6 separate regions of the Homo sapiens genome follow, and regions 1, 3, 4, 5 and 6 are each linked to region 2. Evidence: promoter capture Hi-C in 16 types of primary human blood cells and fetal thymus (Javierre and others, 2016). All regions are on one chromosome and are shown on one strand. The core of a region is centred on a gene start or on the middle of the fragment in contact, and the rest is flanking DNA. Distances in the headings are between cores, read along the strand shown.

Region 1 (4,019 bases), core at 1,212-3,711, 990 kb after region 2:
TAGATTGCCTTTCATATAGCACTTGATACCTTAGCAAATACAGTTTAATTCAAAAGCTATGGAGCAAATGCACAAAACAGGTAGAAATTAATGATTTTTTAAACAAAACTAAAATTATATTAAAATATTTTGTAAGACAACTGACTCATTTTCCACAAGTCAGTGTAAATCAAGTGTGTCAATAATTGGGTAATTACTGAGTCTTTGGGTACATACATAGGAATTTGTTTATTCTATCTACTTTTGTGTATGTACAAAATTTTTGAAATTAAAAGTTTAAAAACTGACATTAAGGTATGTTTAATATAATTAGTTATATAGTTAAATTGACCCTGTGAATAAATTACCCACACGAACTGGTAAAGTGTTTTGGAAATTGTATTTTTTTTTTTTTTTTTAGCAATTCTTGGGTATTCCAAGCATCTTGCCTTTTAATGGTCTCTAACTATTACCCAGGACCTCATAAGTTGGCTACCACCTGAAATTTCTTCCTAACTAAAAGTCTTTAAGCAACTTAAAATTTCATAGAAAGTAATCCATTAAGAACCACAATTAAAAGCAATTTAATTTGAAGACTCATATATCAAAATTTATTAAAGTGTATTTAAATAGAGCAGTGTTCAATAAAATACGTATATAATAAAATTAAATAAGTACTTGTTACTTACAAATATCTAATTTTCTCATAGTGTATGTTTGCATATTCTATGTATAAAACCTAATTCAAAACATAAGTATTGGGGAAATGTGGACCTGTAAGTGATGAAAATTAGATTAGGGAATGAGTTCAGGCCTATCAAGTTTTCTACAATTCTTTCTGTTGGAACATCGGACCTTTGATTATTCTCTTTTTTCCCCCCTTTAGAGATTAGTTCTTGCTCTGTCACCCAGGCTGGAGAGTAGTACCGCTGTCATAGCTCACTGAAGCTTCAAACTCCTGGGCTCAAACAGTCCTCCCACCTCAGCCTCCTGTCTTTGATCATTTTTACTTACAGTTTCATGTCTTAATCTCGATGCTTTGTTGTTCTGGCAGGGGATGTATGGCATTGAGAATGAAGTCTTCCTGAGCCTTCCATGTATCCTCAATGCCCGGGGATTAACCAGCGTTATCAACCAGAAGCTAAAGGATGATGAGGTTGCTCAGCTCAAGAAAAGTGCAGATACCCTGTGGGACATCCAGAAGGACCTAAAAGACCTGTGACTAGTGAGCTCTAGGCTGTAGAAATTTAAAAACTACAATGTGATTAACTCGAGCCTTTAGTTTTCATCCATGTACATGGATCACAGTTTGCTTTGATCTTCTTCAATATGTGAATTTGGGCTCACAGAATCAAAGCCTATGCTTGGTTTAATGCTTGCAATCTGAGCTCTTGAACAAATAAAATTAACTATTGTAGTGTGCTTCTGTTTCTGGGATTCCTTCCTTAATGATTCCTGAAAGATTTCAGTCAGTCTGCCAAGTCATTCTTACCACACGTCATAAATGTCCCTAAATTCCAACATCATCTACACTCCTCCCTCTGGATGAGACAAAAATTCTTTTTTGCAACAGGTGCCACGGTTTGTTGTTGTTGTCCTGAGAATATGATTATCTTTTTAAGGTTATAACTGAAGAAGTTGTAACGGATGTCAATGTATATGACATTTACAAAGGAAGCCCGTTTTAAAAGGAAGAACCCCTAAAATGGAAACTTTGTTAGAATTCTATTTAATAATGAAGGAAAATGAAAGTTTGGTCTGGATTATTCAGATTGAGTCTACTTGGAGATAGCATAACATGTGAATTTACAGGGAAACTTAGGTAGACTTCCTTTAACAAAGAGTTCCAAATTTACATGTCATATGTAGGGGTCAATTTAGGTAGTGTTTAAAACATGAGTTTTGGTGTCATATAAACCTGGACTTGAGTGCTGGCCTTATCGTTGATTAACTGTGATCTTAGTCAAGTTAACTACTTAATCACTCCTAATTCTCATTTTCCTCACCTATAAAACAGTGATGATAACAACACCTCTTCAATATGGGTTGTTTAAATGAGAAAATTATGTAAAACTCTTAGCACATAGCTTGGTCATCATGGTAGCTAACATTTAAGTAGTGCTTACTGTTCCAAGTGCTTCATAGATGTTAACTTAGCTAAATCATCCCAACTATCCTATAAGGTAGTGTTTCTTCACCTCAACACTATTGACCTTTTGGGTTGAATGTTTCTATGTAGTGGGGGCTGAACTGCGCATTGTAGGCTGTTTAGCAGCATCTACCCAACCAATGCCAGTCACACACCGCTGCCGACAAGGTGTAGCCAAACATGTCTGCAGACCTTGCCAAATATCCCCTGGGAAGGGGTGAGGAGAATCACCCTTGATTGAGAACCACTGCTCTAAAGTATGTATCCTCATTTTACAGATGAGGAAACTGAGACATAAAGAGGCACACAGGTAATAGCCACCAAATAACAGAATCAGGATTCAACCTAGGCAATTAGCTTTAAAATCCTTTCTCTTTGCTGGGCGCAGTGGCTCATGCCTGTAATCCCAGCACTTTGGGAGGCAGAGGTGGGTGGATCAAGAGGTCAAGAGATCGAGACCATCCTGGCCAACATGTGAAACCCCATCTCTAATAGAATTACAAAAATGAGCTGGGCGTGGGGGCATGCCCCTGTAGTCCCAGCTACTCGGGAGGCTAAGGAGAATCTCTCGAACCCAGGAGACAAAGGTTGCAGTGAGCTGAGATTGCACCATTGCACTCCAGCCTGGCAACAGAGCGAGACCCCGTCTTGGGGGGAAAAAAATCCTTTCTCTTAAGCACAGTGTACTATAATGCAGAAAAACTTACTGTCAAATTTTTGTATCTTCTTAGAATAATATTGAAATTTTTTAATGCTCCAGCATATTATGAGGGTGCTATTATTTCTATATTACAGAATGGGAGATGGATACAGTTATTAAATTCCTTTTTTATATCATATTTCCAAAGTTACTGTCTAGATGTAAGGAGGAGGGTTAATTTAATATATGCTTCTATTTCATTGTTTCAGTTTCTACGTGAATGTTGAATTTGCAATAAGCCAATAGTTTCCAACCTTGAATTTCATGGATCAGTTTAGAATTATTTAAACTGTTTAAAAGGGGGAATAGACGTGTGTAGGTTAAGAAGCACAAACACAACTTTGCCAACTTTTCATTTTGCCAAATAAGCACATGGAGAAAAAACTACCATTTTCTACTATCATACAAAAGAAAAGACATTTTAATGCCAAAATAATGGGAAGACCACAGTCTCAAATGTATCAGCTATCTTGGACCATGGACAGAAATGCAGAACCTTGGGATGGCAGAGCCAAGAGCTGGAAGAAGGCTGGGCTTTCAGTTTGCATGCAGCTGCCTGTACCAGCTATTGACTGCCTGCCTCCTAATTGCTTTTTATATTAGGAGGAAATAAACTGCTATCACTGTTATTTTAGGTATCTGTCTCAGCTAACCAATTAATTCTAAATGATATACTCCCAACTATATGGCACAGTACCTGTTAGATAACTTTTTATCTAATTGAGGGCATGTACTTGAACGATAAATAACAAAATAAGATGCTATAAAATCAAGAAAAAAAAGACTTGAATCCTCACACATTCAGTTGGAACACTTGTATTTTCTTACCGTCTGGGGAAACGTGAAAAATGGAATTAATAACATTCCTTAGGAATAGAGCAGACGCCTAGTAACACCTGGCTAGTCAATACATGGATCCAGATATTCCATGGGTCAATATCCAAAATGCAAAAACGATGTACTGAATGAGACAGACACTGATAGTTTATCCATGAAGGTACTTTGATCTCATATGATTTTAGAAGCGGAAGTGACTTTTGTCCAAGTTATTTTACAGAAGAGAAATTGATACCCAAGTACTTTTGTGGATCTATTGCTGAGTATTCCTGCAAAGTGGCTAAAACAAAGAAAGGTGGAATTTAGTGGTGCAACTAGCTGAAAAGCTTAGGAATGGAACTGACATTAACCAAC
Region 2 (3,940 bases), core at 682-3,181:
ACATCAAAGGAAATTCCAGTCTTCAAAGCTTTAAACTTTAAAGTCACTGCTTAAAAGTAACTGATCTGCCAACACTAGAGTTTACCAGGAAGTAGCACTTTTTAATTAATAATGTTTTATGTATAAGTGACTGCCAGAAAACAAATCATCTTAATAAATTTTAGAGTCTTATATAATAAAATACAAACAAATTGATAAACTAAACAAGTACTGAATTTCAATTTGGAAGACACATTTCCTTTAAAGGAAATATATTTTTTAAATGACATAAAAATCACTTTGGATTCACTATTTCCTATATTCTCGGCTAACAAATACTCCCTTAAATTTCAAAATTTGTTGTCTAACAAGTTTCTTCTCCAAAACATACGGGTCCTTTAAAATAATCTGCTTAAAAACTCTTCTAGGTAATAAGAACTGAAACTAACACATGAAAACCCAAGTGTCAGGAACTGTTCTGGGCCCTAGGCACTGCTCATGTTTTATTCATCTTTGTGTGGGTGGCTGGCTAGTTTAGCGAAGAATTTAGCAAATAAATCAACAAATATTGGTGAATAAATTAGTCATCAAAACGAGGCAGATGATTTGGCTAATTCAAATGAATGTTCTTACATTATTGCTCAGATTTAGAACAAATCCCAAATATCCCAATCTTGAAAATTACTGTTTTTTTTTGTTTGCAAGGGAAAAGGAGAAAAAGAGATCTATTTTTGTATCTAGTTCCTGAAACTAAAGCTAAAAACAGATTAGTATTCAAAAAAAATCACGTAGTGGAAATCATAACTTCCAACTTATTAGAAAACTCCTAGAGTCTCAGGGATTTTTTTCCTCCCAATTTTTTCTCTATCAACACGGTGTCTCATGAAAAGGAAACAGTCACAAGCCACTGCTCCTTCTAGTATCAGGTATTAATTTCAGTAAGACGACTTTAATAATTCAGAAATATCGACTCAAACAAAACAATGTGTGTGGTGCTGCCTAAGAACCGACCTAGCGATGCATGGTCGTGGTCATTACTTTGGGAATTGAGTACGCTAGGGTTTGGGAAGACAAAACGCAGTGTGAGGCATCAATGAAAGCACATCGCAGGGGGAGGGGAGAGGAAGGAAAGATCAGAGAGGATTAATGACTGCATTACTGGTGGGAGGGGAGGAGGTAGACGAGGACCCCGTGCAAGGGGAGTGGAAAGGTTCATTTTGCAGTGACCGTGGACTGGGGAGTGGGAGGAGGGGCAACTATCAGCAGGAATCTCCCCCCGTGGATGGGTCCGTCACTTACGCAGCGGCTTCTAGAAAGAGAAAATGTGCCTCAGGTCAATCTCAAAGAGCAACTGCGACGGGAAGGGGGAGTGACCCTCCTAGGTGTGAGGGGAAATACAGGGTCACTTCCCAATAGACTTAAGGAGATGTTGCCCTAGGTCCTCCTCGGTCATCGTGGGACAGAGGCGATTGTGGTGAGGACCCCCAGAGCCGCGTGAGGGGCATAAGAGACCCAGAGCTGAGGTGTGGGCGTTACCTGCAGGGTCACCTCCTGGGGGTCCCAGTGAGGCCGCAGGTGTTGCAGGAGGCTCAGGGCCCCCTCCCGGCAGCGATGCTCCTCCTGATCCTGAACGGTGACGTTCAGCTTGGGCACCTCCGGGGAGCCGGGAGGGACGTGGATGTAATTGGCCATGGCCCAGGCGACGGCGGAGACTACCACCACGACGACGGCGACGGCGACCACGAGAACGGCGGGCGCCGACAGACTGGTGGATCCTTCCGTCCCGGGGCGCCCTCGCGGGAGGGCTGGGGGCGCTGGGACGGGCGGGCGAGCGGCAGGAGAACGTCTGGAGGCGGCACTGTTGCCGATCCGGGTCTGGACAGCAGCTGAACTGAGCCCGGCCCGCTCTCGGAGAAAATTCCTGTTGTCGGAGCTGGACCGCGGGCGGCCGCAGAGCATGCCGGGGCTGGCCTGACGCTGGCGTCACGCGCGGGGCGGGTCCTGCGCTGCGTCAGGGTGCCGAGGCGGGGTTTCTCGCCTCCGGTCACAATGGGACCTCTGTACCGCGCTGGGCTTGTTGGCCTGCGATTAGCACACACCCATCCCTGGGAACTGCTAGTCTGGAAAGCGGGGCTGCTTCTCCGGGATGAGCCCGAGCCCTGCCAAGCCCCTCAAGGCATTGAAGCTTTAGCTCACCTTATCCGAATGGTCATTGGGCATCTGGACTTGAGTTAACGACTGAATTTTTCTGGGAAGCAAGGGACACGTTCTAAAATAACCCCAGGATCACTCTCCGAACTTGGCCTGAGTCTAGGCAAGCAGTGTTACTCGGTCGCCTTGATCTTGGAGCTGCTGTGTACTGGGGACCTCATACTAGTTGGGTTAACTATATTCCCATTAGCAGTACGCGGGATCGCAGTACTCGGGACAAGCTGAGTTCAGGTATTTGGGTAAGACAACTGCAACACTTCAGAGGTTATTTGTGGAGTAAGATGTTCGACCATACAGTGAATAATTCGAAGCTAGGGAGAACAGATTAGAGTCTGGTATGAAGAAGAAAGGGAAGGAAAGGAATAGTTTTGAAGCTCAGCGCTAGAACGACTCGATGTCCATGCCAGGGTACCCCGAGTGGGCCTTGAAATCTTGCGTCTCAGTGCCTTACAGGGAATGGTAGAAACTGGAAAATCTACAAGTAAAGTATTGGGACCTCCTAATTTTCCTTTTAGATGGAGGAAAACGGGCTGGGATTCCCTGCAGCACTTAGCACACGGTGAATACGTTTGTTAGTAGTAAATAAAACCCTTAACTGGACTGAGTTTAATTAACATTCAAAATGTTTAATTACTTCACTAGCATTAAGTTTACATCCTGATTGTTCAGAAAGAACCTACTTACCTTTGTAATTAACAAAATAATTACTTCACCGATAACGGTAAACTTCCTAAACTAAAAAGAGGGGTGGAAATGGAGCTTTATAATACAGCAAAGAAGTTGATTTAACATTTTTCAAATTTAGTGGTTTTTTTGTTTGTTTTTTGTTTCTGTTTTTTTTTGTTTTGTTTTTGAGACGGAGCCTCACTCTGTCGCCCAGGCTGGAGTGCAATGGCGCGATCTTGGCCCACTGCAACCTCCGCCTCCCGGGTTTAAGGGATTCTCCTGCTTCAGCCTCTCGAGTAGCTGGGATTACCGGCGCGTGCCACCACGCCCAGCAAATTTTTGTATCTTTAGTAGAGATGGGTTTCACCATGTTGGCCAGGCTGGTCTCGAACTCCTGACCTCAGGTGATCCACCCACCTCGGCCTCGCAAAGTGCTGGGATTACAGGCGTGAGCCACCGCGCCCTGCCAGATTTAGGCATAATTTTCTACAAGAAACATTAGAGTGTGTGTTCCTTCCACTTTGGGGAGAAATCATAAATATACTACTACTTTCACATTTCAGATAGTATCTCTTGTATTTTTGTATAAATTGTATTTTTTATTAAGCAGTTGACATTTTAAGAATTTTAAAACTATGTAACTGTAAAACAATTTAATTGAAAATTATGTTGCAAACTGCACTAGTTTGTAATGGTAAATAAGAGTCCATTAACAAGTAGAAGAAAAGAAAAAAAAACTATTAGGTACCTGAGAACAAAAGTAACCGAAAATGTACAGGATCCATGGATAAAATTAATGGAGAAATGAACCATATTCATAAATGAGAAAAGATTAATGTAAAGGCCTCAATTTTCCCTGAACTAATCAGTACATATAATGCAATTCCAGTTAAAATCTCAAAAGGGTTTTTTTACTGAACTTGTTAAAATGACATTGAAATTCATATCAAAACTTAAGGTCCAAGAAAAGCGCTGTAATTGGGGAGAGGAGGATAGGGACAGGTAAGATCAGGGAATATATTGGGAGGACCAACCCTACCAGGATGTATTATATATTGGTTTAGGTATGGGCAAATAAACTACT
Region 3 (4,125 bases), core at 1,208-3,707, 930 kb after region 2:
TCTCTGGCTACATGCTCCCGACAAGACAATCACAAATGTCAATTGCACGTAACTCCTTGCGAAGGACAAATGTTAAGGTTCTTTTCCACTAAGCCCAGTCCATCTCATTTCTCTGGCTTCCCTCATAAAATGATGAACAGTCTTTGCATCCGTCAGTGATAACAGAGTCTCAGCTTCCCATCTCCTGTGAATAAATTCTTGGGGGAGGGAAGCATCTACACACCTATCTAAAACAAAGAGGCCTTAGGCTACATAAATCAAAATATGGGGTAGGGAGGATTTCTAACTTTGCAGAAACAAAGTTCAGCCAATAGATACAATTACTATTACTAAATAGTACACTTAATGCTTCAGTCTGAAGGTACAGTCAATCCTCCATAGCCATGGGTTCCAATGTCTCAGATTCAACCAACCTCAGATTGAAAATATTGTGGACAAAAATATAAAAAATAACAATACAATAATAAAATAATACAAATTTTTAAAACAACATAGTATAACAACTATGTATACATCATTTACATGATATTAAGTATTATAAGTAATCTAGAGATGATTTAAAATATACAAGAGGATGTGCACAGTTGTATGCAAATACTATGCCATTTTGTATAAGGGACTTGAGCATCCACAGATTTTGTTATCCACAAGGGGTGGAGGGTACTGGAACCAACCCCCTTTAGCTACTAGGGAAGAACTGTACTGCATTTTGGTTCCTTCACTGGATTTCAGAGCTTCTCATCCAACATTAGCATTGGGAAACTCCTGGATGAAAGGGAACATCTCCCATAAAAACAAATTCCTGTACCACCATTGCAAGATAGAAAGTGATTACTACTCCCCACATGAAAAATTCTCCAACTTCACCACATCAAAGTCAGGAAGCTATTGAGCATTCAACATTCTAGAATAAGGCAACCCAAAGCTTTCATTGAACAAATATGGTTTGATTGCACAGGTTTGTCAAAGTGCCATGTGGTTTTTGAGTTCCTAAACACCACAATGTCCCCAAGCAAATTTTTAAAACACAAGTTATTCCTTCAGGATGCCAAGATTCCATAGGAACATTATCCTCTATTTCAAAAATAAAGTATAAAGCTATTTGAAAATAAAATATCAATCAGTCAATGCCGAAACTGTAGGAAAGACTGAATGTTGCCTGCCTTTGGAAATCTGTGTCATTCCAGAACATAAAGGCCAATTACCATATCTGCTCAGAAATATATATCAGAAATATATATCAGAGTTGGAAGCTCTTTAGTGGAGATGGATCTTAGAGGCCCCTTTAAGACATAGGCTTTTAGAAACCTTCTATATTAAAGCATGCTCTTACATCCTTCCAATCCTATAACAGAATAAACGTTTCAAAGCACCGACCTGTTAATTACCTTATTTAATCTTCACTATGTTGCATTCATTTGTAATGTTGTTTCTTATTCAATTAAGTAAAGAAGCTTAACTTCTAGATGCATATTATGTGTTTTAAAAGGCTGCAAAAAGCATAAGAATAAAAAATTATTTTCCCCATTAGCTTATCATCAGGAAAATTCCAGACCAAAGAAAGGCATGGAAGTGGATGGTTATGGAGTAAACTTCTGGAAGAAACAAATGTGGAAGACACAGCTTTTCCTCTTTGTAACTTAAGCCAGAATCAACCTACTTTTATCCAGGGGGTAAACTGAGAGAGAAAGAAAACTCTCTATTGACTATTGCGTGCATGCCAAAAGATCATAGACTTTATCTCAATGAACCCCATATAGGCGTTATTATCCCCATTTTATAGATCATGATAAAAACATGCCCACAGCCATATGTGTGGTCTTTGAAAGTACACCATCAAACCCAGACCTATTGATTATAATTATAAGGCCTCTTTTCCTTTCCATGGTATCTCACTGACAAAACCTGTGTTGCCTGGTCTGTGACCACGTCTTGGTTAACTGAAGGAGAACAGAAAATTGTCCTTTTCAGCTGAAACTAAAACCAGATCAACTGACGACTCCAAGATGTTAAAAAATGGTCCAGATAATCCTGACTAAAAATACAATGGACAAACAACTTTATCAATTTCAGACTATTTTTCCCGGTCTCTTGAATTTTGCATGTGAATGTTTCATTTAAAAACAGCCTCATCAAGCAAAGTTTAAAGAAGTGTGTCCAAAAAAATTATAGGTTTTTCCCCCAATCTTTAGAAGATTTTCATTGCTATTGCTACGAAATACAAAAAGTTAAACAAAAAATTTTGTTTTCCAAGCTGAAACATGTATTTGTAAATCCAGGATAGTTAAACAAGAAAACTATTCTTGCAGAAAATATCTGAAAAATGAAATAAGCAATATTAAGACAAACTGAGTAAGGAAGTGGTGATTAAGTGGAGTAAAGACCGAGGTCATGTACATCTGTGCTGTGTAAGGGCCCACTTCATTTTTTGATAACTTCACTTTTTCACCCTTAACAGGGTTAACCCTAGAATGTGACAAGGGTAGCCTATGACAGGCGACATTTTGAAGTCACATTTATACAACCTCTACCCCAAACCCAAAGACCTCTCTCTCTCTGACACAAACACACACGGAAATTTATATACTTTTAATATACACAACCCAAGGTAGTCTTTTACAATTTACCAGAGTCATTTATTACTTAGTGGCATTCCAGCTCTCACACAAAATCACGATATTTCCTGTGCTTCCCTCCATGCACGTTTTGTTCACTTCTTTGCACAAGGGAACTGTGACTCTAGCATGCTGACTTGTCGTAGAAAATAAAGTGGGAATTTTTGGCCATCACTTTTAATTTAGAGCTACTGGTTCATTTCTAGAATAACATTAAACAAGAGAACGATTAAAAAAAAAAAAAAAAGAGAAAGAAATGAATGAATAGGTTATCACTGCCATCTGGTGGTGAAAATGCAAGAAAACAGGATATACATTCTGATAGCTCAAAATAGAATTAGTTTGGGAAAAGCATTGTTTTATAAAATGTCAAAAAATGTTCAGAAGTTTAATTAAGAAATGATTATCAAATGTTTGTGTTACTGATATGACTCAGAGTAGTCGCAATACGGAATATATGATCTCTTCTGATTCACATTTTTTTTTTCTCAATTTCCAGGAACATAGAGGTGTTCCTACTTTTCAGGCCCAAGAACCATAGAAAAAGTTAAATGATCATTGCATCCGTTTCACCTCCCCATGGCACTCCTCCTTCACAGTTGTTATTTCAAGAGAACTAAGTATTTACAATCATGCTATGTGGTGGGCACAGCATACAAAACGGACATCTCATCACCTGCTTGCCTCTATCAGGCTCTGAAGGTGTCTTTCCTAGGAAGTTGTCAACATAATTAAATCAGACAAACTTCAAGATACCATTGCTTTTGACAGTGTGGAGTTTCAACATGACAGACTTTGACTCTGCAGGGGGATTCCACAGCAGCTCCCATCATATCTAAGCTTCTATTACACCCAAGCTTCTATCACACACTAAGCAATGTGATCTCACATTACACAGCATACTAAACTCTCTATATAGGAAATCAAACTTTCTTACGTTGCACACACACACACACCATTTGTTTGTTTCTGCTTTCAAGTCTTTATGCTTTCTTTTATTTTCACTTGTATTGCCTATCATATTATCCTCTTCAACTACCCAGGTCCTTGCCAAACGTAAAAATTCACTGACTTGAAAATGCCTCAAAGGTTATCTATATATTACTTTTTAGGGTTTGCTTTCTATATGTCAGACACTGTTTCAATCATTTTATGCACATATTAGTATTTCCAAATTCTCAAAAAAACTTTGGAGAATTATTATTCCTATTTAAGCGTGGAGAAAACTTGGCTCAGAGCAATGAATAACTCATCTAAGTCTGCACTGGGAGTGAGTGGAGAAACCAAGTTTTGAAGCAAGGTCAGTCTAATTTAAAGGTTAAACTCATTCCTTCCTTGCTCATCATTCTAACAGGGCTTTAGTACACACACATATATGATGTAAGAACAATACATATATGTTCTTACATCCCTTTCCTGTGCAATATGATCCATTCCTCTCAAGAAAGTATGAATGACATTTCCTTTAGCAACTCCAGAGAACCCTCATTAGCTAATGAAGTGGTCTCTT
Region 4 (4,055 bases), core at 1,403-3,902, 950 kb after region 2:
CACAACTTTGGCAGCTATTGCTGCAAAGAGAGATTGGGTGTCAAAAGTCTTTTTTTTTTTTTTTTTGAGACGGAGTCTCGCTCTGTGGCCCAGGCGGGAGTGCAGTGGCGCAATCTCAGCTCACTGCAAGCTCCGCCTCCCGGGTTCACGCCATTCTCCTGCCTCAGCCTCCCGACTAGCTAGGACTACAGGCGCCCACCATCACGCCCGGCTAATTTTTTTGTATTTTTTTTAGTAGAGACGGGGTTTCACCGTGTTAGCCAGGATGGTCTCGATCTCCTGACCTCGTGATCCGCCCGCCTCGCCTCCCAAAGTGCTGGGATTACAAGCGTGAGCCACCGCGCCCGGCCCAAACAAAAGTCTTTAAACTTCGGCCCAAACTTGAATTTCCAGTTATTTTATTCATTGTCCTTGGAAAGTTTCAAGAGCTAAAACATTACCTTTTTCTTATAATTGTTTAATTTGAGGTTCACTTTAACTTGCAGATATGGAACAGTGGTTTCAATAAATTACAGTAAATTTAGTTAATCTTACTTTGGAAATTGTGTAAGGTCTTTGATGTTGTTCCAAATATCAGTTCCTTCCCTGGAATTTTGTGGCCTAAGCCTCAGAGCAGTATTCAAATGGCTGTTATTTTGTATTGTTTCTTAAATATCTAGAAAATATGTGAAATACAGGGTCAGGCTCTGTTGACAATGCACAGGAATCGTTCAAAAGGCTTACATTATATGCTTGGCCTAGAAACAAACAGAACAGTTTGCCACATTTTCCTAACAGTTAAAACCTCTTGCAAACTATTCCACATTCAGCATTTCTCTCTGCTCTGCAACACTCATCCCTCAGTCCTGTTTAGCAAACCATATACCTTCTGTGATCATCACTGTTGTTCCCACTTCCATCCATTACACTCATTCTCCCATTTAAAAAAATTTCTTGCTTTACTCTTTTTCAATCCATGTACACACCTTGCTTCAAAATACTTTTTACGAAACATTCCCTAGGCATCATTCCTTGACTGCTTCTGTGTTCTTCTTTTGCAACTGTGTATTTTCTTGGAATGTATAAAATCAATTTTCCCATAATGTACATGTTGTATATGTTTATCTTGCAATTTTCAGTTGAACATGTGTCATAAGTATAGGTAAGCAAGAAGGAAGATTTTACCAAAGAAGAGAAAGTTGTCAGTTCATTAAGACAAAGTCCATTATGTTTTCTTTTCTGTATGGTATCTCTCAGAATTAAACTCATCCATTGTATTATTTTCTTCCTGTCAGTTTCATTGCCAGAGTCATAATAAACTTGAAATGCTCTGACATAATTAACTAGCTGGGGAAAGGAAGAACATAACTGTCAGTTAATTTAGGAAATGACTATGCTTATCATTGCTCAGATAATGTGTTTGTGTCTCACACACATTCTCATTTCCCTTTCCTTGTAGGTACATCGTGACAGGCAGAAAAAATCAATCTTCTGTTAGAAATAGTTCTGTAACTTATTTTTCAAACAAACTAAAAGGACTTTAAAAAAACAGCATTGAAAGAAACTAAGTGTGGTTTAGGAAGAAAGGAAATACATTTCTAACCCAATTTATGCAGTATAGTTTTCCCCCAAGATTACCTACTTACTTTCAAATACATGCTAACAGGCTGTGTTTATACAGCCCACACATAGATGAGGAAAGCTTACACAGTAAACTCCCCAGCTTCTGGGAGGACTTTGTGGCTCAGTAAAAATGACAGAAGGATTCCATGGAATGATATAGCTCTATATCCTAAACACCTTTAATCCAAGGGTTTATATGAATTTGTACAATAGCTACTAGGTATAAAAATAGTGTAGTCTATGCGTCCTGGAATAATCAACCAATATGAAGCCACCAGAAATGTATTCAGCTGGTAAATGTATTACCCTTCAGATGGGTAAAGTGTTTCTCATGCATTGGCAGTGGAATGCTCAATGTTTGGGAATGGCTGGAATAAATAAGAGGTTTTTTTAATCCTTCCAGAGTTATCTGTATTTTAAAAGTTTATAACTAATGAAGTGTCCATGTCTTGAGTTTGTGTGCACACGCACATGTGTGTGTGTGAGAGAGAGAAAGAAAGCAAGAAAGAGAGAGAGGGAAAGAGAAAGAAAGAAAGAGAGAGAGAGAGATCCTTTTTGGGAAACCACTGATGAGGCTATCTGGACTCTCACCCTGGGAAAATGTCCACATGCATATACGCACAATTTTATATAAAATTCAGAGGTTTTATGGGTTTACTCAAAGGTTAGAAAGACTTACATCAATTGACATGACTTTAGGCAGTGCAAAAGTTAAACTAAAACTCTTCAGGAAATAAAAATATTAGGCACATAAGACATTCCCTGGTTTAAACACATAACACACACACCCACCACACACACACAGCCAGAGTTCTTGAATTCAGTTAGGAAGATGACGCATCTAAAGTCATCATTAGCTACCTCACACAAGCTCTGACAACTCCAAATTGCTCCTCTCCCTAGTTTACAGTTCGGCATTCCAGATCTCAGTGTTTTTGCTCCTGCTCACCTCCTCTCTCTCCTAATTCAGCTCCACCTTAAGAGCACAGACCCTGTCTTTCAGAAAGCCTCACCTGGCTGCCTAAACCCTTTCTGTTCACAGCAAGGCCAGATGCCCCAGATATCGCCTGCACAATAACACATCATTTCATGTTGAAACCGGAAAAGTTCCCTTGTCCCCCATGCAGGGCATGAGATGGGGGTGTGGCTCACTTTTTCAGGTGCTCTTTTATTTTAGCCATCTGTAGGCAGCCTGCGTTAGCTCAATTAGACTCCCTGCCTTATCTCAAGGACAGAAGGCTTTCTGTACCCTGGGGTTTCTTGCCTTGGTGTACCCGAAGAATTGGATCTCACGTGGGCTTGGAGAATGAATGCAAGGTTTTATTGAGTGGAAGTAGCTCTCAGCAGATGGGGGAGCCAGAAGGGAGACAGAGTAGGAAGATGGTTTTCCTGTTGGAGTCAGGTCACTCAGCAGCCGGGCTCTCCTCTGACCACCCCGTCCAAACCCCACGTTGTTCCACCTGTCGATGGCCTGCTGGTGCCTGTCGATGTGCTCTCGACGTCCAGCTGCTTGTGTGTTCCTCCGCCAGTGTGCTCCTCTTGACGTCCAGCTGCTTGTGTCTCTGCCTGGTAGGGTCTCAGGGGGTTTTATAGGCACAGGATGGGGACGTGGCCGGCCAGGGTGGTCTTGGGAAATGCAACATTTGGGCAGGAAAACATAAATGCCTGTCCTCACCTAGGTCTGTGGGCGCAGGCCTGGGGATGGAACCCTAGCCGGGAACGGAACCCTAGCCGGGGACCATAGCCCTCCTCTACCTAGCACTTCCCTGCTGGCCTTCCGTATCAATAGGGCCTCTAAACTGTGAGCGATTTGAGTACAGGAACTCTGAGTTATTTAATTCTGTGTCCTCAGATCTTAACTCAGTGCCTGGCACTGAGAAATGTTTTTGAATGAATAACAGTGCACATATGCGTGTGATACATGCACTCAGTATTTAAATTCAGGTGGCTTAAAGTTCACAACCCTTGACTTTGTGTTCAAGAGAACTTGAAACAATACCACAGCCTTTGAACAAGCTTGTTTAAAAGGAGCAAGTACTCATGAATAAATTATCTTCTGTCTCACTTTCAGCAAAGTATACTTTGAAAGGAAATGGGCCAGTTCCCTTATAGGTGAGTTCTCAAGTGGTCAGTTTTTGGTATGTGAATTTTTATGATAAATATTTCCCTTTCCTTTTCATTACACTATTATCGTTGTATAAAGAAGTGTACCTGTCTGTGGCATAAAATTTAAAAGATATCAAAAGATAAACAACACAAAGTAACCTTTCTTCCTCCCCAGAAGCAACCATTTGTAGTATTCATTAACCTTTCACACAGAGTCTAGGCATATTAAAAAATAAATGACATCTTTTGTTACATTTTAAGACATACATTCAGAGAAATATTTCTCAATATTTGACAGCTGCCATAAGGAAGAAATAGCATGTAGAGGTGCTTCTTCAGAGACAGGC
Region 5 (4,401 bases), core at 1,339-3,838, 520 kb after region 2:
GAGGGAGGGGCAGGCCACCATCTTTGCTCTTTAGCAGCCTTAGCTGCCTTCAGGCATTAGAGTCCATGGTGACCAGGGGCTGTAGTGGATCCCCAGAAAAGCACAACTATCTTGAGGAAAAGCAGCCAGGCTGCTTTTTTACATGGGTCCCTGATCCTATACCTCCTTACTGGGTGGGATCTCCTGATTGGGGTCTCCAACCACTTCTTGCAGGTGTGTTCAGGTTGGTAACAGGTCCGACCTCCCTGGGATGGAGCTCCCAGAGGGAGGGGCAGGCCACCTTTTTGCTGTTTTGCAGCCTTCACTGTTGATATCTTTAGATACTGGAAAATTCAAAGCCACTGGGGACTGGAGTGGACCCCCAGCATACTGCAGCAGCCCTGTGGAAAAGTGGCCAGACTGTTATGTGGTCCCCAATCGTGTAGCTCCTCACTGGGCAGGTCCTCTTGGCTTGGGTCTCCAACTACCCTCTGCTGAGGCTATAGAGCCAATAGCAGCTCTGTAACTCCCTGGGCAGAGCTCCCCATGGTAGGGGCAGGTTGCCATGGTGGCTGTCTTGCAGCCCTTGCCCTTGGTGTCTCCAGGCTCTGGAGAGTCTGTGAGGATCAGGGACTGGTCCAGATCCCCAGCACAGAGCAACAACCCCATGGAAAAATGGTCAGATTGTTCCCCATACAGGTCCCAGTCCTCACTTCTCACTGGGCAGGGCTATCCAACCCCCAACACAACCACCCTGACCCTGCCTGATCACTTCAATCAGAGCCAGCTCAGCACTTCTCCCAGGAGGAAATCGCAGAGCCAACCCACAAACCCTCCTTCGCTGCAGCTGCAGTGGTACAGTTCCAACAGCCCTCGTGCTTGGGAAGGAACAAGGGGCTTAGTCATTATGCTGGCACTTCCAGCACACCACAGCCACGCTATAGAGAGGAGCCCAGCCCCTCTTCCAGGGGAATCCCCACCCCACACTCTTCACCAGGCAGGGCCCCTGGCTCATGACTGCAGAACAGCCACTCCACCCATGGCTGAACATATCCACTGGTAGTGGCCTGAGGAGAGGCTTGTAGAGACATGTTACAGCCCCTTCGTCACTGGTTCTATCCCTGCTGCCCTCAGTCTGAAGAAGAAACAAAGAACCTGAGGGCTACATCTGAGCTTACAGCATGCCACAGTCATATGGAGAGGAAACCAGTCTCTCCTCCCAGTGAACCATTGACCCCCTGCTGCCAAACAAGCAGAGCCCCAAGCTCATGTGCCAGCACTGCACCTGCCCCTCCCCACTGGCTGAACACTCCCAATAAGAGCAGCTCTGCTTCACAGAGGTGGAACCCCCAGGGGCAACCAAAAGCCTCTCTGCCACTGCCTCTGCAGTGGTATTACCCCTGCCACTCTCAGAGTAACAAAGGCAGAAGCAGTGGCAGAGAGGCTTTGGTTGCCCCTGGGGGTTCCACCTACAAGAAAGATGGAGTGCAGGAAAGGGAACTCCAGGCTTGGGCCCACAGCACAGACCCATCCTAGGCTGATTGCACTGAGCGATTGCTGACCTGCATTTCTCTGGGGTGGAGCCCCTAGGATACAAATAAAAGACCATCGGCTACAACCACTGCTAAGGTTCCTTCCTCTGCTGCCTCTAAGTTGGGGAGGAAACATAAACCTTGAGTTCACCCCAGAGCTCTGGTGGACAGCCTGGGAGTGCCAAGCCGCAATTTACAGCCAGCGCTCAAGTGGAAGAGGGGCCCTTGATTTCAGAGCATTGAGAGGGAACATGGCTGCAACTGTGAGGAAATACAGGGGAACCACACAACTGAGCAAGAGCCTACCAACTGACCACTATGCCTAAGCGCCACCTACTGGATCATACCCCAAAGCTTCAACACCAAAAATGTCTAGGTAACATACTCCCCTGTAAAACCAAAGACAAGAAGTTAGCCACAAATAAAAACCCTGCACAAAGCTTCAGCCCTGTGAAAACATCCAGAAAAGAAGTCTATTGACTATACTCAATCTACGCTGCAGTTAAAGGAACACCCACATGCAGAGATGAGAAAGAAGGCAATACAAGAACTCCAGTAACTCAATGGCCAGAGTGCCATATGTCCTCCAAATGACCACACTAATTTTCCAACAAGGATTCTTAACCAGACTGATCTGGCTGAAATGACAAAAATAGAATTCAGAATATAGGAAAAACAAAGATAATTAAAATTAAAATTCAGGAGGATGGCAAACCCCAATCCAAGGAAAATAAGAACCACAATAAAACTATACAGGAGCTGACAGACAAAATAGCCAGCATAAAAAAGAACCTAACTGATCTGACAGAGCTGAAAAACACACTACAAGAATTTCACAATGCAGTTGCAAGTGTTAACAGCAGAATACACCAAGCTGAGGAAAGAATCTCAGAACTTTTTTTTTTTTTTTTTTTTTTTTGAGACGGAGTCTCGCTCTGTCGCCCAGGCCGGACTGCGGACTGCAGTGGCGCAATCTCGGCTCACTGCAAGCTCCACTTCCCGGGTTCACGCCATTCTCCTGCCTCAGCCTCCCGAGTAGCTGGGACTACAGGCACCCGCCACCGCGCCCGGCTAATTTTTTGTATTTTTAGTAGAGACGGGGTTTCACCTTGTTAGCCAGGATGGTCTCGATCTCCTGACCTCATGATCCACCCGCCTCGGCCTCCCAAAGTGCTGGGATTACAGGCGTGAGCCACCGCGCCCGGCCAGAATCTCAGAACTTGAAGACTGGTTCTCTGAAATAGGACAGTCAGGCAAAAATTAAAAGAAAATAAAAAGGAATTAATAAACCTCCAAGAAATGTGGGATTATGTAAACATGCCAAATATAAAAATGATTGGCATCCTGAAAAGGGATGGGGAGGAAGCAGACAACATGGAAAACATATTTCAGGATATCATCCATGAAAATGTCCCCAACCTCACTATAGAGGCTGAGAGTCAAATTCTGGAAATACAGAGAGCCTTGCAAGATTCTATACAAGAAGATCATCCCCAAAAAACACAGTCAGATTTTCCAAGGTTGAAATGAAAAAATGTTAAAGGCAGCTAGAGAGAAAGAGCATGTCACCTACAAAGGGAACCCCATCAGGCTAACAGCAGACCTCTCAGCAGAAACACTACAAGCCAGTAGAGATTGGGGGCCTATATTCAACATTCTTAAGGAAAAAATAATCTTCAACCAAGCATATTATATCCAGCCAAACTAAGCTTCTTCTAAGTAAAAAAGAAAGAAGAACCTTTTCAGATAAGCAAATGCTGAGGGAGTTCATTGCCACCAGATGTGTCTAAGAAGAGATCTTGAAAGGAGCACTAAATATGGAAAAGAAAGACCATTACCAGCCAATAGAAAAACACACTTAAGGACACAGACCAATGACACTATACAGCAACCACACAAACAAGCTGGCACAATAACCAGATAACAACACAATGACAAGATCAAATTCACACATATCAGTACTAACCTTGAAGGTAAACAGGCTAAATGCCCCATTTAAAAGGCTCAGAATGGTCAGCTGGATAATAAAGCAAAACCCAGATATGCTGTCTTCAAGAGACCCATCTCATACACGATGACACCCATAGGCTCAAAATAAAGGGATAGAGGAAAATATACCAAGCAAATGGAAACCAGCAAAAAGCATGAGTTGTAATCTTAATTTCAGGCAAAACAGACTTTAAACCAACAAAAATCAAAACAGACAAAGAAGGGCATTACGTAATCATAAAGGGTTCAATTCAACAAGAAGACTTAACTATCCTAAATATATATGCACCCAATACAGGAGCACTCAGATTCAAAAAGCAAGTTCTTAGAGGCCTACAAAGAGACTTAGACTTCCACACAATAATAGTGGAAAACTTCCTTACTCCACTGACAGTATCAGATAGATCATTGAGGCAGAAAATTAACAACAACATTTCAGGACCTGGACTCAATATTGGACCAATGGATCTGATAGACCTTTACAGAACTCTGTACCCAAAAACAAAATATACACTTTTCTCATCACCACATGGCACATATTCTAAAACTGGCCACACAGTTGGACATAAAACAATCCTCAGCAAATGCAAAGAAACTGAAATAATACCAAACACACTCTCAGACCACAGTACAAAATAGAAGTAAAGACTTAAAAATAAATCACTCAAAACCATGCAATTACATGGAAATTAACCTTCTCCTAAACAAGTTTTGGGTAAATAATGAAATTAAGTGAGAAATCAAGAAATTCTTTGAAACTAATGAGAACAAAGATACCAGAATCTCTGGGACACAGCTAAAGCAGCGTTAAGAGGGAAATTTATATCACTGAATGCCCATATCAAAAAGTTAGAAAGATCTCAAATTAACAACCTACCATTACAACTAAATAACTAGAGAA
Region 6 (4,466 bases), core at 1,784-4,283, 560 kb after region 2:
AGGCACTATGTTAAGCATTTTATATTATCTTTGTTTTTCTTTCTAATGGCTTTATAAAATTTGGTTTGTGTTTATATTCTAAGTAGAAAACTAAGGTATACAGAAGCTTGCTTAACATCCCAAAGAAAGATAATAAGTATAGTTGGAATTTGTTATACATTCCACTAAAATTTTCTTCTAATAAAAATTGGATCTGTCTTTAACAAACATTCTGCAGCATTTATGTCCATTAAATCTTCATGTGTGGTTTAAGGGTTATTCCTGAAGTCTCTAGATCACATGCTCCCAAAGTTTTTCCTGTGCTTCTTATTTTGAGGCTCATATTACCCTTGTAAATACTGCTTTCATACATGATTTATAGTTATTATGCATCTTAATAACTTATCAATTTTAAAATGTTGACATCATCAGACTGTAAGCTCTGCAAGCAGAAAGCCTACAGTTCCCACAACCAGTTCCATGCTGCGTATCATCATAGGTACCTGGTAAGTAAGTGTATTGCTTAATATCCAAGTGAAAAACATTGTTATATTTGATCATGCAAATAAATACAGGTCACAGCACTGTTTGTAATGGTTGCATAGTAATCCTTTTTAGGGATATTCTATTTTTCACAGGACATTTAAGTGGGTTCTTTTAACTTCACTATTGGCCCATTTGTCTCATTTCTTTCCTGGAATTGGAATTTGGAGGAAAAAGTATGTACATTCAATTAGCAGCAAAAACTATTCAGAGTGTAATTCATATGTACTAGAAATTCTGCTAAGTGCTTTACTCATATTATTTTATTAATCCCTTCCAGAGCCCTACGGTAATAGGTACTCTCGATATCTCCAGTTTACAGATGAGGAAACAACATTCATCTTATCACAACTGGCTAATCAGTGGTACAGTCTGACTTCACAGCTTGTGCTAATAATCATTCTACATTTGATACCTATTATCAAACTAACCTCCAGAAAGACTGTCCCAGTTTAACAGTTTGATCAGCAGTGTTTGTTAAAAGAGTTCCTATTTCCCTACAATCATACCCATTTGGAGGATGTGCTTTGTCATTTCTTTAAAAATAAGTAAATAATTAATTCCTGGTCCATTTTACTATGGGTGAATAAAAAGATACCAACCAAGATATGCCACTTCTTTCCAGCACAGGCCCATTTCTTTTCTCCATTCATCTACAACTGCTAGCTTGTCTGATACACTGACTTCCATTTTGCAATCCAGTTTTAAAGAAGACAGCGTCTGCTTTGAACAGGCCCTTTCTGAGATTAGCCTCACCTTAAAAAAAAAAAAAAAAAGGATTGGAGGAAGAAGGGAAAAATTAAAAAGTGAAGAAAACAGAAATCTTTCATAATAATTGACCTTGTAGACAGTCCAAATCACAAACGAGTCATCTTTTGACTTTCTGAAGGTCCAAGTAAGAAAACTGACTGTCGAATTAAAATCATGATGCTTTAAAACAAAGCTCATTTTATTTCTCATAGCCCAATAAAGGTGAGACACAGTATTTTATTTTCTACAATAGAAAGGATTCTATCTACAGGTAAAAATTACAACATATATTGTCTGATACTACTCTAAGATTCTCCTATAATTCAATTTATCCAGAGGAAAGTCTATAACCTCTCTCTTGTGCTGCTTAGCAATACATATTTAGGATTTCTGGTAAATTATAATTATCTTAGCTAGCTTTCATTTAAAAAAATACACTTAAACGTTAAGTTATTTTGAATCAAAAATGTCATTCATAAGAATAAGCTAGATTTTAAAAATCCACAGGATATCGTCCTTTTCTAAAATGGTACACCTATTATCTAGGGAATCTTTCTTGCTGCAAGATCCTTTGGGAAACATTAGATAGCTCCCATTTAAAAGTAGTTATGTTTATATTTACTGAATAAACAAGAAATATTATTTGCTGATTAACAAATTCCTAATTCTACTCATCTAAAACTAAATAGTATAATAATTTTCTAGGCGTATGAAGGCCAAATTTCAGATATTTTAAGAGTTAATACTAAAAATTTAAATCTCTTAATTCCTTGCATGTTCTTTGACCCTGAATCAAAATATTATAAAATACTGCTATATTCAGGGAGCACATACCTCAATACCACTTTTCTTTAATAAACTTATCCCAATAGCATCTTTTACATCATAAGATATTATTTCTTTTTGGTCTCCTGATACATAAATGTGGCCATTGGTGAGACATCCATCAATATTGCAAACCAAAAGTTTTATTTCCTTAAGCTTCTCTTTGCCAAAATAGCCATATCTAAAAGAAACCAAAATAGACCTTTGAGTACAAGTGCAGTACTAATCACTCCCTCTCATCTGGCTAAACCAATACATGAAATGTCACCCTCCATTCAATTATTCAAACATTACTCTCCAAATTTACTTCACATATATATTTTAACATATAGTACAGTAAGTAAAAGTAGTGTGGTCTAGCCAGATAATGTTTCTCACTTTATTGAAGCCATGTAAACACATATTTTACATGTCTTCCTCACATGAACAAAGTAATTACAAAGATCCTAAGATGTCTGAAGTATCAGAAATCAGTATCTAGAAATATAATTATTAAGATTTAGTACAAAGGTTATAAAGGTTTATTTGTTTTTACCTTAATACTCTTTGCTCTGCAATAGGCCAATCAATATCCACATCTATATCCACACTATGTTCAGCTCGCATTTCGTAGTATGCCATTTTTCCACCCTAAAGGTAGTATAAATGTCATGAATACTGTTTTTAATATTCATTCACATATATCAAAACTTTATTATAATACAGAACAATGAATTCATTTCTACAGTACTGAGAAAAATGAATAACCCAGTAAAAATCAGTCACATAAAAATGATTTTTAAATTTATTTTTACTTTTTTATTTTTTCGAGTCAGGGTTTCACTCTGCCTCCCAGGCTGGAGTGCAATGGTGCAATCATAGCTCATTATAACCTTGAAATCTTAGGCTCAAGCAATCCTCCCACCTCAGCCTCCTAAGGATCTGGTACTACAGGTATACAGCACCATGTCCGGCTAAATTTTTAAAAAGTTTTTTGTAGATATAAGATCTTGCTATGTTGCCAAGGCTGGTCTTGGAAACCTGGCCTCAAGCTATCCTCTTGAGGCCTCAAGCTGGCCTCTCAAAGTGCTGGGATGACATGCTTCAGCCACCACGCCCAGCTTTTTTTTTTTTTTTTTTTTTTTTTTTAAGGAGAAAGCTCACACAAAAGAAATAACCTTAACATTTTTCAAATTCTATCTAAACAGTTCAAGTTCCCTATTTAAGAAAATTTCTATTTTAATATTGAAAAAAGCAGAAATATTACATCCTCCAGGTTTCTGACCACAAGGGATTTTGTGGAAATCCCTTAATCATATCCTCCTTTTTTTCAAGAAGTCTCTCCTGTCATCATCCAAAAGCAGTATTAAGGTTTTTGGAACTTCTGTTCTAATTTGCAACTAACAGGCAACACAGGGGAGGAAAAATAACTGTAGCATCTGTTGTACAGAGTTTTCTTAGATCTCTGAGCTACTGATGAAAATGACTAATAGTCATCCAAGTCACATGCAGGCAAAGGCAAGGGCAGTCTCTTGATTCTAGGCAAGGGTCAGCAAGAGAAAGGGTCTTTCTTCTGATAGTAATTATTTGAATGACAAGATCAATTACTGGACAATTTCAATTTCATTTTTTTTTTCAGAATTGTCAGTCTCTTCATAAACCTTGTTTTAATGAGAAACATTTTTCTCCACACTTTAGGAATGGGTTAATCATGGTCCTCCTTAGAAAAAAGCTTAAAAATGGTAGTATCTATGTGTGTCAAATCCAATTTTTCTGAACACTTAAATTTAACTAAACAGCTAGTCTATAGTTTGCCTACACATTGACCAGAAGATTTGTAAAAATGTTTTTCTCTCTTTTGCTCAGAATAATAGTCCCATTAGAATTTTTATTACACAATGGAGAGGTTTCTCTCTCTCTCTTTAAAACCGCTATTTCTTGAGTAACATAAGAACCTGAATCCAAATCCTGACAGTACCATTTATTAGCTGTTTTTGCCTTGAGTCAATTACTTCATATTTCAGTGAGGCAGTTTTCCTCCTCTGTAAAACTGGGTAGAAATGTCCACTTCATTCATTCGCTATGCAGATTACATAAGATAACATATGCAAAGTGTTTCACCTACTCCGAAGTACACAGTAAATAATAAATAATAATGATAACTAAAATTAACAAGTTAAGAAATATATGATGCAACCATGTTGCAGGCTCTAAAATGAGAGAGACATTAAATCTGTTATTTGAAAATGAGAGTCAGGACAGATAAAATGATACATATTCAAGCTTACATAGTAAGAGGCAGTTGACTTAAAGTATAATAAAAAAAAAAAAAAATATATATATATATATATATAAAAAGATTCCGGGTTTCCTGACACCCAGGTTGTAAC

Evidence for each region. Contacts are between HindIII fragments. The CHiCAGO score rates a contact against its expected background, and 5 or more counts as called.
Region 1: a fragment that was not itself captured here is called in contact with the fragment with the promoter of ETNK1 in region 2 in 1 of 17 cell types (activated CD4 T cells); the score reaches 5.1 in activated CD4 T cells.
Region 3: a contact is called between a fragment that was not itself captured here and the fragment with the promoter of ETNK1 in region 2, in 3 of 17 cell types (naive CD4 T cells, total CD4 T cells and non-activated CD4 T cells). The highest score is 9.3, in naive CD4 T cells.
Region 4: a fragment that was not itself captured here is called in contact with the fragment with the promoter of ETNK1 in region 2 in 5 of 17 cell types (activated CD4 T cells, total CD4 T cells, non-activated CD4 T cells and 2 more); the score reaches 16.1 in activated CD4 T cells.
Region 5: a fragment that was not itself captured here is called in contact with the fragment with the promoter of ETNK1 in region 2 in 1 of 17 cell types (megakaryocytes); the score reaches 5.9 in megakaryocytes.
Region 6: a contact is called between a fragment that was not itself captured here and the fragment with the promoter of ETNK1 in region 2, in 10 of 17 cell types (M0 macrophages, M1 macrophages, non-activated CD4 T cells and 7 more). The highest score is 10.9, in M0 macrophages.

The regions. Positions count from the first base shown.
Region 1 is chr12:21,632,724-21,636,742 of GRCh38, reverse strand. LDHB (lactate dehydrogenase B) reads left to right here. Exons shown (of 8, transcript NM_002300.8): 8 at 1,034-1,401. The coding sequence ends at 1,201. Among named protein-coding and RNA genes, the nearest start is that of LDHB, 23 kb to the left of the region's middle. The HindIII fragment of the contact is 3,064 bases long and covers 930-3,993 here.
Region 2 is chr12:22,623,162-22,627,101 of GRCh38, reverse strand. It overlaps ETNK1 (ethanolamine kinase 1), which reads right to left and starts at 1,931. Exons shown (of 8, transcript NM_018638.5): 1 at 1,516-1,931. The coding sequence starts at 1,671. ETNK1-DT (ETNK1 divergent transcript) reads left to right here and starts at 2,056. Exons shown (of 4, transcript NR_135030.1): 1 at 2,056-2,429. RefSeq lists enhancers at 808-1,497, 1,517-1,686, 2,217-2,286. The HindIII fragment of the contact is 2,136 bases long and covers 31-2,166 here.
Region 3 is chr12:21,696,791-21,700,915 of GRCh38, reverse strand. All of the region lies in intron 1 of KCNJ8-AS1 (KCNJ8 antisense RNA 1), which reads right to left. Among named protein-coding and RNA genes, the nearest start is that of KCNJ8-AS1, 37 kb to the right of the region's middle. The HindIII fragment of the contact is 2,001 bases long and covers 1,457-3,457 here.
Region 4 is chr12:21,676,468-21,680,522 of GRCh38, reverse strand. The region is part of intron 1 of KCNJ8-AS1 (KCNJ8 antisense RNA 1); the gene reads right to left. Among named protein-coding and RNA genes, the nearest start is that of KCNJ8-AS1, 16 kb to the right of the region's middle. The HindIII fragment of the contact is 1,937 bases long and covers 1,684-3,620 here.
Region 5 is chr12:22,098,578-22,102,978 of GRCh38, reverse strand. No RefSeq gene overlaps it. Among named protein-coding and RNA genes, the nearest start is that of CMAS, 55 kb to the right of the region's middle. RefSeq lists an enhancer at 999-1,138. The HindIII fragment of the contact is 1,269 bases long and covers 1,954-3,222 here.
Region 6 is chr12:22,059,093-22,063,558 of GRCh38, reverse strand. CMAS (cytidine monophosphate N-acetylneuraminic acid synthetase) reads right to left here. Exons shown (of 8, transcript NM_018686.6): 5 at 2,633-2,727; 6 at 2,107-2,278; 7 at 1,125-1,278. Among named protein-coding and RNA genes, the nearest start is that of CMAS, 15 kb to the right of the region's middle. The HindIII fragment of the contact is 1,555 bases long and covers 2,256-3,810 here.